Regions from separate parts of the Homo sapiens genome. Here region 1 is linked to region 2. Evidence: promoter capture Hi-C in 16 types of primary human blood cells and fetal thymus (Javierre and others, 2016). All regions are on one chromosome and are shown on one strand. The core of a region is centred on a gene start or on the middle of the fragment in contact, and the rest is flanking DNA. Distances in the headings are between cores, read along the strand shown. Region 1 overlaps NHS (NHS actin remodeling regulator). Region 2 holds the start of BEND2 (BEN domain containing 2).

Region 1 (2,700 bases), core at 75-2,574, 520 kb before region 2:
GAATACATAGGTTTTTTGGTGGATCGAAATATACACTGAGACTCCCAGGTAGCTGACTATAATGGTGATACCCTAGGTCCCCATCTCCCATTATTTCCTCCAAAAATGATATAGAACAAGAAGGGAAAAATAAAACTACACAGAAAAACACACCATCAGCATAACTTGAGGACAGAGAATTCCCAAACATCAAATTGACTGTTAAGTAAAAGAGAGAAAACACCAAGTCTCAGCATATTTCCTCCTGTTACAAGGTGAGGGAGGGCAGATTCAGAAAGCCACATGGAAGAAATGAACTAGCAGTGGGTCCTAAGATTGATCTAAAACCACCACCAGAAAAATTGTCTGCCCTAAGTCTGAAAAATACTACAGATTTTTTCAGATAGACACAAACTACAAAAAAGGGCCTAAAAGTATGCATATTTTACAGGAGCAGTTTTCTCTATATAAAGCTTCTGGGGGAGACAAAAGACAAACAGGAAGGGAAATCTGCCCTTCAGCAATTGGGAGTGAAGAAGAAAAGAGGCAAAAAGGAAATTTCTAGGACCCTGCAAGACAAAATAAAACCAAAAAATTCAAGGACACGCAGGAGTTGTATGTGTCCTTCAACTCCTGCCTCACCACCAAAACAAACAAATACACTAAAATATTTGAACTTCAACAAACTGACAGAAGATGGTGCCATTAAACTAGGGATCTTGTGAAACACACCAAAGCCACACAAATGAGTAAGAGATAGATTAGCAGATCCACATAGAGTGATTGCAAAAGGTCAATGAAAGAATATATGAAGCAAGGGTTTTATGTCCAACCATGCTGTTCATCAAGTATAGAAAAGCAATTTTCAACATACAGGAACTTAGAGAATTTTGCACCCATGAGTCCTTTATGAGGCATCTACCACAGGACAAGCTTCATCCAACCAAGGGATAATTGGGGAAATGTCAGCAAAAGGATGGGTAGCATACATTTTAATACATGTAAATGTAGATCTAAAACTAAAAGTACAGTGGAGATGAAGATAGAAAACTAAGGTGCAATTTTAAATGTTGTGACAACAGAGAATGATACAACTAAAAATGAGAGAAGGGAGAGGTAAAGAAGAAAATAGAATAAGCTAATTGATCACTGTCTAGGCAATAAGTGGCTGTTAAAGGATACCAATAAGAACTAGTTAACCAGATAGTAAAGGCTTGAATAATAAAACAGAGGACTAAGGACATTAAAATGGTATAAGAAAAAAGAAGACTACTAGCAAAAAAAAAAAAAATACAAATCTTCCTAAATACCAAAAAATTGTTTTATATAAACAGAGAAGACAACACATCTTACAGAGGAAGAAACATAACAAATATAACAAAATACACATAATTATAACATTTATCAGAGTTTAGTCATATCAATGAATATGAGTGAGCTTAATTTGCCTATTTAAAAACTTTTCAATTTGGCTCACAAAGCAAATCCAACTATATGCTCTATACATTAAACACACACAAGATTTTTATTTATTAATTAGGTCCTGATTATTTGAAAAAACATGACCAAGAAAAAGAGAGAGAAAACACAAATAAAATAAGCAATGACAGGAAAAAATACCACTGAAACAAAAGAAATTTTAAAAATTATAAGAGACTATTTTGCAGACCTCTGTGCAAATAAATTTGAAAACCTAGATGAAATGGATAATTTCCTAGAAGAGTAAAAATTGCCAGAATTGGCGTCATTAGAATTGGTAAGCTTAAACAGACTGATTTCCATGGGAGAACCAGAAGAAGTTATTAAGGAGCCATGCCACTAAAAAACATCAGGCCTAGATGGTTTCCCAGAGGAATTCTACTAAACCTTCAAAGTCCAGATGTTCCCAATGCTCTATAAATTGTTTACAAACATTGAAAATGAAGCAAAACTTCCCTATTATTTCTTTTATGGAGCAAGTATAACATTGACACCTGAACTGATAAAGACAGTCAGACCAATATCACTCATGATTATTGATTCAAAAATACTAAATTCAACATTAGCAAACAGAATATAACATCATATTATATTAGGAGATTAATATACTGTGACCAATGGGATTTATTCTAGGAATGGAAGGTTGGTTCAATATTAGGAAATCTATTAGTATCATATATCATATTAACAGATCTAGGAGGGGAAAACCCATATGGTTAGCTCCTTGGATACTGGCTAAGCCTTAAACAAAATTCAATATCTATTTTTAATTAGAAATGCCCCTAATGTTTCCATACATATGTATATATGTATGTATATATATCTAATGTTAGAGAAAACCCCATTTACAGCAATAACAAAGAAGACCAAATACTTAGGAATTAATTTACCAGAAATGTGTAAAACTTATATGAGAAAAACTTTAAAGCACTCCTTAAAGACACAACATTAGACTTTTTCAAATAGAAAGACATCCCCTGTTCTTGGATAGAATGATTCAACACTACAAACAAATCAGTTCTCTCTAAGTTACTTAATAAGTTTAACACAATTTCAATAAAAATACCAATAAGCTTTATTTTATGGAGTTAGATACTTATGGGAAAACAAACATATAAGACTAGCCAGGAAAACACTGAAAAAGGAAACCTAGCCCTACCAGACATTAAGATATAGTTAAAGCCTCTATAATTACAATATTGTGGTATTGGCACATGAATAGACAGATATATCAGTAGAATA
Region 2 (2,700 bases), core at 74-2,573:
CGCAAAATGTCTGACAGGAAATCAACTCGGGAATTTGTCAATTCTTTAGACTCAAAGCTCTCACCCAGTGGGGTGGTTCACGCCAGTAATCCTAGCACTTTGGGAGACTGAGGCGGGAGCATTGCCTGAGCCCAGGAGTTCGAGACCAGTGTGGGCAACATGACGAAATCCCGTCTCAACAAAAAATACAAAAATTAGCCGGGCGTGGTGGTGCACGCCTGTAGTCTCCGCTCCTCAGGAGGCTGAGGTGAGAGGACCGCTTGAATCCAGGAAGCGGAGGCTGCAGTGAGCCGACATGGCGCCCCTGCACTCCCACCTGGGCACCAGAGCAAGACTCTGTCTGAAAACAAAACAAAACAAAACAAAACCAAGCAAAAACAAAAACAAAAAACAACAACAAAAAACCTCTGTGAAAGTCTGAGTCATTCCTCATTCCTCGCCCCCCCATACCCCGCCTCACCAAAAAGAGAACAGCTGAAAAAGGATAAGCTCGTCCCAGAAAGTCAGCATCAAGTATCTAATAAGCTTCGAAATCTCAAAATGTAACCCACGCGGGCACCCCGGGAGAGGCGGCGGGTACCACCCAAAGCACCCCCTCAGAACACCCGGAATTTGAGGCTGTGCCCCAGCCGCTATGCCAAAACGCTGAACAGGGCTGTGTTCCGCGGCTGCCCACCAGGGAAAACCAATAAATTCAAGAAAAAGTGCGGCCGCATAGATCTGTATCGCCGGAGCCCGGCGTCGCGAGCGCCGAGATTGTTTCCCAGCCACTCGAGGCTCCGGAAAGAACCGCGGGCCAGAGGGCAACCAGGCCCAGCCTCTTGACGCACTCTCGGCACAAGCCCAAGTCACCCCAACCCTGAGCCACCAAGAGCCACGGAGACGCCATGAGCCTCAGGATCACCTCACGTCTCCGGGACATCTTGAGCCCCTGAGACGACCTGAACCCTGGGCCATCTCGGTCCACCACGCCAAATTTCCCACCGGCGCGCTGAGCAATCGGCGGCAGATGGCCAATACCCAGAGGCCGCCCCCCGACACGCCCCGGTCAATGACTAGCCAATCCTGCCGCCCCTGAATGGCCACCTAAGTGGGTGCCATCCAGACTCTTGACAGAACTTGAGGCCCAAGCTAGCGGGCCAGTTGAGGCGAGGTCACTTTACCCTGTTCCTGGGTCCTCTCTGACATCGTGAGATGGCGGGGTCTGGCTCTGAGGCCCGAGACCTGAGGCCCGAGACCTGAGGCCTACGTCTGCGCCGCGGCTCTGAGGTAACTGCTTGGTAACTGTGTGGTAACTGCGTACACTCGTTGTCCGAGGCACAATGAGGCCCGGGCAGGAGCCTGGACCACGTCTCCGCGGCTGCGCAGTAGCGCTTGGCATGCGTGCGTGACTCCTGGGGGTCAAAGGGCCTCGCCCTCTCCCCCACTTTTGACCTACTTTCTTAAAGAGTCCCTTTTACAAAAATATACATATGTATGTATATATATATTTGTACTATATATGTGTGTGTGAATATATGTAGATATAGATACAGAAGTAGAGATAGAGATAGAGATAATGAACTGGAAGCCAACAGTGTAATTCTGCTCGTCCCAAAACGCACATCATAAAAAAAAAGTCCAATGTAAGAGACTTTCTAAATCTTCCTGCGGGACTCTCAAAGGCAGCCCTTCCTTTGCCGCACTCGGGGAGAGCCGGGAGGGAGGCGATCCGCCACCAGCCAAATCAGGGCCTTTCCTCTTAACGACCACGCGGCAAGGGGGCCGGGCCCTCGCACACCTCGATGGCCTCCCCCACTCCAAAGGGACTCCGATTTCGCAGGATCTCCCAACTTCCGCCTCTGTTCCCAACACCCTACGTGTTTCTCTTCCTCCTCGTTCAGACCCTCTAGTGTTTTCCAGGTTGCTTCCTCATATCCGATACCGGCTTTGGGAACAAATCCGAAAACAAGCCAACTTTGAAAATGTGCCCCTAATAAATACCTAGCAACCCCTCCCCTCCTTCCTGCCCCCTCTAGTAGTCTGCAGTGTATTGTTTCCATCTTTGTGTCCCTGTGTACCGGATCTTTAAGCTCCTGCTTACAAGTGAGAAGATTCGGTATGTGGTTTTCTGTTTCTGTGTTAATTCACTTATGAGAAAGGCCTCCAGCTGTGTACATGCTGCTGCAAAGGACATGGTTTTGTTCTTTGTTATGGCTGCATAGTATTCCATGGTGTATATGTACCACATTTTCTTTATTCAGTCCACCATTGATGGGCACCTAGATTGATTCCATGTCTTTACTATTGTCTTCACATCTTTCAAAACCTCTCTCGGTACTACATCTGTTCGAATAATACCTCCATCAAGACACTTTCCTATAGCCCCCTGGTAAGAAGGATCCCACAGCAGGTAATCTTCACGTCCCTATTAGTATTTAAATTACTTTGCCTGACATTATAAATCCTCGTCAACATGCCTCTCTCCTAAGTTCCTGGAGGACAGCACCATGTCTTATTTATATTTGAACACCACCTCCCTCACAAGATTCTAAGAATTAAATGTTATAAAATAGAAAGCACCCAGTGCCTGGAATTTGGGATCCATTTCTTCACTGTGTCAGTTACACAATGACTCTTGTGACTGTGTGTCTCCTCATTTGGGGGAAGGGTAAGAATTTCTTTACTTGTGAGAAGCAAAGGTGTATATTGTTAGGTAGA

The links. Contacts are between HindIII fragments. The CHiCAGO score rates a contact against its expected background, and 5 or more counts as called.
Region 1: a contact is called between a fragment that was not itself captured here and the fragment with the promoter of BEND2 in region 2, in 3 of 17 cell types (non-activated CD4 T cells, activated CD4 T cells and naive CD4 T cells). The highest score is 5.9, in non-activated CD4 T cells.

Annotation. Positions count from the first base shown.
Region 1 is chrX:17,696,673-17,699,372 of GRCh38, forward strand. The region is part of intron 3 of NHS (NHS actin remodeling regulator); the gene reads left to right. Among named protein-coding and RNA genes, the nearest start is that of SCML1, 39 kb to the right of the region's middle. The HindIII fragment of the contact is 828 bases long and covers 911-1,738 here.
Region 2 is chrX:18,219,563-18,222,262 of GRCh38, forward strand. BEND2 (BEN domain containing 2) reads right to left here and starts at 1,324. Exons shown (of 14, transcript NM_153346.5): 1 at 1,164-1,324. The coding sequence starts at 1,188. The HindIII fragment of the contact is 8,313 bases long and covers 524-2,700 here.